2 separate regions of the Homo sapiens genome follow, and region 2 is linked to region 1. The links are contacts of gene promoters, found by promoter capture Hi-C in blood cells and fetal thymus (Javierre and others, 2016). All regions are on one chromosome and are shown on one strand. The core of a region is centred on a gene start or on the middle of the fragment in contact, and the rest is flanking DNA. Distances in the headings are between cores, read along the strand shown. Region 1 holds the start of KIFC3 (kinesin family member C3). Region 2 has its middle 47 kb from the start of KIFC3.

Region 1 (4,099 bases), core at 405-2,904:
AAAAGAACAATAAATGTTATTATTAATTTAAAAATCTGGCTTTGGCTTTGGTGGGAAGGACCTACAGTTAATGTCAATGTACTCAATCCCTGAGTAAGAAAAAGTCTCCAGTTTTGAACCAGGACTTTAAAGACATTCTGTCCTCCCCATCCCCCGCCCCATCAACTCATAGGGACTATAATCAAGGGAGATAGATACTAAATCAGAATTCTAGAGACATTTTGCCTTCATCCACCCTTGCGGTCCCCTGGATCACTGCTGTTTGGAGGGCAGGCAGAGGAATTCAGAGATCATAACTCCCCAAATAAGGCTTTCTCTCCCATTGGAAGGGTTCTCCAGTGTGGTGTTCAGCTGGAAATCTAACTCTCTAGGGAATGATTCCAGGAGCGTTACATTCACCCTCTATCAGGCCTTCACTGAGGAATCTCAGTTGTCAAATAAAGCATGCACTAGGCTGCTTCCAGCTGGGGGACTGTGACTGTCCTGCTCTGGCGTCCAGAACAATCTGAGGCCCAGGCCCTTGGCTCCGTCGCTGGTCGAGATTCTTGACTGGCAGCCCAGCGCCTGGGCGGCAGCAGGAGATAGAACCCACCTGGAGTTGCCCGACCCCCTCCAGTCCTCTCCTTGATCTTCTTGGGCCATCCCCTGACAAGCAGGAAGGGACAGAGTACCCGCCCTCCTGGGATTATCTGCAGAACCGTCAGCCTGCATGGGCTGGCTTCAGAGTGACTTGCTTTCTCCTCTTCCGCACCCGGGGGTGTGGAGAGTGAGGGAGAATATTGCTGCTGGCTCTGGAATAAAATGCTGCCTCTGTTTGGGAGACAAAGAACAGAGTGGCTCCTCCAGGTCAGCTGTCTCTCCCGGCTGGCAGGCCCCTGGCCTCCCCCAGGCCTCTTCTGAGGCTCTAGGTGCCCCAGTAGCAGGGCCTTCTGCAGCAAGGCCGGGAACTGCTGCACCATTGGTGTGTTTTACCTTAAGGGACTCCAGGCAGCTTCCTTGCTGGGAAGATATTCATTTGCTGGGGTGGGGCTGGGGGTGCAGAGGTAGGAAGTGCTGTGGCTAGAAGGCGGCCTGGCCAGCGAGTAGGTGGTGGAGCGAGTGAGAGCGTGTGCGCTGTAAACAGTGTGAGTGCATGTGCGCCAGCGCGTGCAAGGACACGGTAAGGGATGTACATGTATTGTCTCGTGAGTAAGAGCTTGTGTGTGTGTTGGGATGGGAAGACACGTACTGGTATGAGAGCCCGCGTGAGAAGTGTATGTGTGAGTACTCGCGTGGAAGTTTTGCACTCGGGTTTGAGGCTGTGCAAAAGTACGCATGGCTCACCAGGTGTGGGGCTGTGTGGGCTGCCTCGTGTGTGCCAGCCCGTGTGCAGGCCTGTTTTGTGAGAGCCTTCAGGGAACGCATGAGCACGTGTGCCAGTGCGAGTGCGGGACGCGGGGAGGCGGGAGAGACCGAGTGGGAGGCCCCGCGAAGGAGTGGGAGTGGGAGTGGGAGTGCCGGCGGGAGACCTGCGGGGGCGCGCCCGGGCTGACGCGTGCGCGCCAGTGCGCGTGAGTGCGGGCGCGCGCCGCCGCCCCCCGCCGGGGTCGGAGCCGGTTGCCATGGGAACGCGCCGCGGCCCGAGTTAATCATTTCCTGTGGAAAGTGTGCGGGAGGGGCGCGAGCGGGCTGGCCGAGGAGGAGGCGGCGGCGTGGAGCTGCCTCCTGCCGGCGGGCCGGGCCGGGCCGAGCCCCGGGCGCTGCGGCGACGCCTGGATCCTGCCTCCGCCAGGCCGGTGAGTGGGGGGCCCGGGCGGGCTGGGTGCGAGCGGGGCGCTGGGCTCTGCCCGGCCCGCCGTTTGGGGCGCCGCGTCCGGGCCGGCCCTGCCCTCGGGACCCCTCTGCCCGGACCCGCTATGGGCGCGGGGAGGGAAAGGCCCGGGAGACCCAGCCCTGCGAGGTCCCCTCCAGCGCCGTTCAGCCCGAGTCGAGGACCTTGCTGGGAGCTGGGCACAGGGGCGGCGTGTCCCACGGGATCCGAGCAGCCTCGGGACCCCGTTTGGATTTTATTGAACGAGAAGAGCGCAGACCCTACCCGGGATGGGCTTGTCAATCGGCGCCGCCCTCTCCCCTTCCTGGCGTCTTCCCCACCCCCAGGGCTCCCTGGAAGGCTGCCTTTGGGTCCCTCCCACCACGTCCCTTGGGGAGTTCGCTTTTTCCCTGGCAGGGCCTGGGGCGGGGTGCGCCCGCCCAGAGGTTAGGAAGAAGGGCCTTGGCCGGTGCCCTCCGGGCAGTGAGGAATCGGGCCATTGACAGCCGCAGCAGTTGTGAGGGTCTCAGCAGGGAGGGCGATCCCAGGACCACCCCTTTAAGCCCAGCATTGCTAGTTAGAGCAGAACTCTGGCTGGTGCAGTGAAGGGCCTGGTCCTGGGAGATATTAAAGAGGAAGCTGTGTTTAATTAAATTCTGGAGTACCATTTACTGCCACCCAGCCCCCACCTCCATACCCCAACACTGTCTCAAGATTGCGGGTTGTGGCCACCCCTGGTCTTTCACCTTCCCCGGCTTTTCCTCTGCCTGAACAGGGTGAGCACCCATTCTTTCCCAGACGTGTATTCCCCATGCCCTTGTTAGAGTAGCCGTCTCCTTGACCAGGGAGAGTCATTTGCTAGGAATGCAGTCTCAGAATGGGGCCCTGCATTTGCAGTGAGTGGACTTTAGGGGCACAGGGTGGTGAGTTCTGCTGTTCACAGGGGCACCAGGGAGCAGAGGGTTTGAAATCTAGGTTGCCCTGGAAAGCCCAGGATAGATGATGGTGTGCAGGGAGGTGGCATTCCCTGTACAACTTCCTTGACCTTCTGCCTGCTCTCCCAGGGCGACCAAGCCCTGCTTGCTGCAGTCTCTGAGCAGCTGTCCAGCCTGTCCCCCCAGTCTTTGCAATGTCCCTGATCTAGGGCAGGGGGAGTATTGCAGCTCTGCTGTCCTGGTCTAAACCCAGAGAGGCAGAGACCCTCTTCCCCAGCCAGGCCCTCTGCATTCACCCACCACTGGAGCAAAGTAACTGAAAAATAAAATTTTGGAGCTCTTTGTATATGCCAGTATTGTTCTGAACACTTGGCCTTGTCTAATCTTTAGAGCAACCCTATAAGGTGGTGTTCTCCCCATTTTATAGATGGAGATAATGAAGTACGGAGAGGCAAAGTAATTCTCCCAAGGTCAGACATCTAGTAAACAGGGGAGCCAGGTTCTGAACCAGTCCCACTGCCCTCCCCCACGAATCCTAGGTTGGTAGAAGTCCCCGGACACCAGGTTTCATCTCAGATGCCCATGTAAATGAGAGAGAGTCCTGCTTTCTTGGCCCAGAACCCTGGGCTTAAGATTCCTTGATACTTTTGACCTTCACACCCCTGAGGCTGCTAAATTCAGCTGCTTTTTCCTCTTCGGGATCTAGCACACGCCCTTCCTCTTTCTTCCCGATATCTTCCTGGCTGCCTCCTCCACTTCCCTTCCTGATAACCGCAGAAACGCTATCTCCTCCTGTCCCTGCCCCTCAGACTGAGCTGAGCTGATCTCCCTGAAAGTCTTCTCTGTCCACTGTGGAGTCAGCCTCCAATGCCCTGCACTGTCTCACCTTCCCAGCAGCCGAGACTGCAGATGGACCTGCCTTGCTCCTTCCCTTGCCCATTGGACAGCTGGTCTGCAGGGTTGGTTGTGTGCCCAGCTCTGTGCCAGGCAGCCTGGAGAAGAGGACATTTGGCTGCTCCCCTTGGTTTCTTCCACGCCACACTGGTCCATCTCAGTTTCCTCAGTGGAGCTGGCCCACGTATTTAGATCAGCCTCTGCCCTGTCCTTTGGCCCACATTCCCATCCCCTTCCCAGTAAGACTGAACCTAGGAGCCTCCTAGTTGTTCTAAGTCAAGGAAGGAAGAGACCATGGCTTCCTCGCCAGGTGCCTGGCATTCTTCCAGGGTTGGGCTCTGCAAACATCAGACACCAGATCTTCAGGCCCCTAACCCCTGGACCCTTTACTTTATTATTTATTTATTTATTTATTTTTGCCTCTCAATGCTTTAGTCACTCCTGTCTCTCTGTCTCCCCAATATGCTCAACTCTCCCCCTA
Region 2 (4,099 bases), core at 1,182-3,681, 47 kb before region 1:
AATAAAATAAAATAAACACAAGAAAAATCTATGTGTTTTTAATATGAGGGGAAAAATCAGTAAGTGGATTGGAAGATGAAGTTGAGGAAATTTTCCAGGAACTAGAACAAACAGAGAGAGATGAAAAATAATAGGCCATGCATGGTGGCTCACACTGGTCATCCTAACACTTTGGAAGGCCAAGGCAGGAGGATCACTTGAGACCAGGAGTTTGAGACCAGCCTGGGCAACATAATGAGACCCCCGTCTCTACAAAACATTAAAAAAACATTAGCCGGGTGTGGTGACACACTCCTGTAATCCTGGCTACTCAGGAGGCTGAGGTGGGAGGATGCCTGGAGCCTAGGAGCTTGAGGCTGCAGTGAGCGGTGATCACACAACTACACTCCAGTCTGGGCAACAAAGCAAGATCGTGTCAAGAAAAGGAAGGAAGGAAAGGAGGGAGGGAGGGAAGGAAGGAAGGAAGGAAGGAAGGAAGGAAGGAAGGAAGGAAGGAAGGAGGGAGGGAAGGAAAGAAGTTGAAATCAAATCAGCAATTTCAAAGAATTCCAGAGAGAACAAAGAAAGGGCAGAGAATATCAATGAAATAACACAGGAAAACTTCCCACAGCTGAAGCACTGGAAGGGCCTGCGGAGAACTCCGTACAATGTATGAAAAAGACCCATTTTTGTGGCTGGGCACAGCGGCTCACTCCTGTAATACTAGCACTTTGGGAGGCCGAGGCGGGTGGGTCACCTGAGGTCGGGAGTTCGAGACCAGCCTGGCCAACATGGCAAGACCCCATCTGTACTAAAAATACAAAAATTAGCCGGGCATGGTGGCAGGCGCCTGTAATCCCAGCTATTTGGGAGGCTGAGGCAGGAGAATCGCTTGAACCTGGTGGATGGAGGTTTTAGTGAGCTGAGATAGGGCCACTTCATTCCAGCCTGGGCAAAAGAGTGAGTGAGACTCCATCTCAAAAAAAAAAAAAAAAAAAAAAAACCCTTTTTAAAATTTATTTTTATTTATTATTATTATTATTGTATTATATTATTTTGTTTGTGTGTGACAGGGTCTCACTCTCTCCCCCAGGCTGGAGTCCAGTGGCTCAATCATGGCTCACTGCAGCCTCAAATTCCTGGGCTCAAGCAATCCTCCTGTCTCAGCCTCCTGAATAGCTGGGACTACAGGTGCATGCCACCATGCCCGGCTAATTTTTCAATTTTTTGTAGAGACAGGGTCTCGCTATGTTGCCCAGGCTGGTGGTCTGGAACTTCTGGGCTCAAGCAATTCTCCCGCCTCAGTCTCTCAAGGTGTTAAGATTATAGGCATGAGCCACCACACCTGGCTTTTATTATTACTATTTATTTTTTAGAGAAAGGGTCTTGCTCTGTCACCCAGGCTGAAGTGTAATGGCACGATTATAGCTCACTACAGCCTCAAACTCCTGGCCTCAAGTGATTCCCCTACTTTTCGAGGCTGATTCCCCTCAAGCCTCCCAAATTACTAGGATTACAGGTGGAAGCCTCTGCACCCGGCCCATTAACTATTTTTTGTTGTTGTTGAGATGGAGTTTTGCTCTTGTTGCCCAGGCTGGAGTGCAGTGGCATGATCTCGGCTCACTGCAACCTCCACATTCCAGGTGCAAGTGATTCTCCTGCCTCAGCCTCCCAAGTAGCTGGGATTACAGGCACACACCACCACACCCGGCTAATTTTTGTATTTTTAGTAGAGATGGGGTTTTATCATGCTGGCCAGGCTGGTCTTGAACTCCAGACCTCAGATGATCTGCCTGCCTCGGCCTCCCAAAGTGCTGGAATTACAGGCATCAGCCACCACACCTGGCCCCATTAACTATTTTCTAAACACCTCTACCCCTATCTTCTAGAGGCAGTGAGTTTACGTTCTCCTTCCCTTCATAAGACAAAGGGCACCAACTCTGTAGTTTAAAAGACTATATTGACTTTCAGATTTTTAGAGAAGTGCCACTATGAACCCACAGAGCACTTAATAAGGGTTTTAAAATAATTAAATCAGTAATAACAAAGTAAAGGCCGTCACAGATACACACACACAGCAGTTTGTCTCAATCGATCTGATGTGTGTTAAGTTTGCATTGTCATTATCTACAAGGTAATTTATCTCCATTAAACTGGTCTGTAGGGGATACATTGATGAATGAAATCTGGGTTTCATTGCTTTGTTTATTTACAACGTACCCTTTCTACTGAGATCACCAATTATCAAGAAACTGTGATGGTAGTTGCCTTAAATTGGTTAACTGGGTTTCTGTCCCCAAAAAGGCTTAAATTTAGACGAGTAGAGCCACAGATATAAACCTCTAAAGCTTATTACTAACTCCTCTGTTAATCTCTGTACTGTCTGATCACTCAGCTACTATTGTTCTCTGCTTATGGAAAAGCACAGAAAAAGTGTGGTACTTACCATGACATCTACAGGAAGAACAGTTTTAGGATTCTAGGATTAGTGTTTAAGTGGAACCGGGGAAGAGAGAAGAAATTAAATCATCATAGAAATGTTCTCATAAAGCTTAATTTTATGTGAATATTTTTCACCTTGAAAACAAAGTTTAAGGTCACAGTTGCCAGAGAATCTAAATTCCTTATTTTTATGTATTTATTTAGAGAAAACCTCTAGTTTTTTGTTATGGCTGCCTGAAGGTGGCACATGCATTAAGTCCTAAGACATGCTAAATCTTTTTGTTAAAAACCCTGTGTAGCCATTCTTAGGGCTTCCTTTTAGCAAGAGAGACATTTTAGCAGTCTGCACACAGAATCGGAGATTAGCTTCATATGGGCGTCTTTTAATTTTAATTTTTTGAGACAGGTCTTATTCTGTCTATCAGGCTGGAGTGGCAGTGGCTCAGTCACAGCTCACTGCAGCCTCAAATTCATGGGCTCAAGGGATCCTCTGGATTCAGCCTTCCCAATAGCTAGGACTACAGGCATGCACCACAACGCCCAGCTAATTTTTAGAATTTTTTGTAGAGATGGGATCTGGCTATGCTGTGCAGGCTGGTCTGGAACTCCTGACCTCAAGCAATCCTCCTGCCTCGGCCTCCCAAAGTTCTGGGATGAGCCACCACACGGGGCCTCCATGCTGGCATCTCAATGCTGGTCCTGAATTTCGGCTTTCTGTGTGGTCCTTCTTAAGCCAGTTAAACCACTCTCTGTTTGCTTGATCATAAAAACAAATGAATGTTCATCTGAACAAAACGAGCTTATAGCTTTAATAGAATCTCCAAAATGTATGGCAACTTCAAGGCATTAGACAGAAAATAACAACAATAAAACTTTGGCTTCTTTACAAAGTATTTAAAAGTATTTAAAAATTGTTTTGCAAATAACTCTTCTGGCATCCAGGCCAAGCATGGTGGCCCACGCCTGTAATGCCAGTACTTTAGAAGGCTGCGGCAGGTGGATCACTTGAGGTCAGGATTTCAAGACACACCTGGCCAACATGGTGAAACCCCATCTCTATCAAAAATACAAAAATTAGCCAGATGTGGTGGGGTGCGCCTGTGTCCCCAGCTACTTGGGAGGCTGAGGCACAAGAATTGCTTGAATCTCGGAGGCAGAGGTTGCAGCGAGCTGAGATTGTGCCACTGCATTCCAGCCTGGGCAACAGAGTGAGACTCGGTCTCACACACACACACACACACACACACACACACACACACACACACAAATTCATCTGGCATCTGGACTTAATCTAAAAATATATTCTTGAACAATAAGGCCAAAGGGAAAGAAAAGTCTCAATGTTCTCTTACGCATTTATATCATCTGCAAATCTCTTTCAGGACTCCCCTCCCCTGCTTATAACAGAAAATTGGGCAGCCCTGTGTGTTTGTGTCAATTCCACAAATTGACAGAATCAATTTGTGGAATCTCTAATCTTTTTCTATCCATGGAACACTCCTAACACCAAATGTGTGTTGTTTCTTCCCCACACCAATAAATTCTCTGTGACACCAGCTGCATGTCCTACAATTTTTTCAAAATTACTTTTTATTGTTTATAGACACAGGATTTTTACTGTGTTGCCCAGGCTGGTCTCGAACTCCTGGGCTCAAGCAAGCCTTCCACCTCAGCCTCC

What was found. Contacts are between HindIII fragments. The CHiCAGO score rates a contact against its expected background, and 5 or more counts as called.
Region 2: a contact is called between a fragment that was not itself captured here and the fragment with the promoter of KIFC3 in region 1, in 1 of 17 cell types (megakaryocytes). The highest score is 5.3, in megakaryocytes.

What each region holds. Positions count from the first base shown.
Region 1 is chr16:57,800,046-57,804,144 of GRCh38, reverse strand. KIFC3 (kinesin family member C3) reads left to right here and starts at 1,654. Exons shown (of 20, transcript NM_001130100.2): 1 at 1,654-1,775. RefSeq lists enhancers at 681-1,357, 2,035-2,711. The HindIII fragment of the contact is 12,094 bases long and covers 1-4,099 here.
Region 2 is chr16:57,847,349-57,851,447 of GRCh38, reverse strand. It overlaps a transcript of KIFC3 not described here. Among named protein-coding and RNA genes, the nearest start is that of KIFC3, 47 kb to the right of the region's middle. RefSeq lists an enhancer at 3,920-4,099. The HindIII fragment of the contact is 203 bases long and covers 2,330-2,532 here.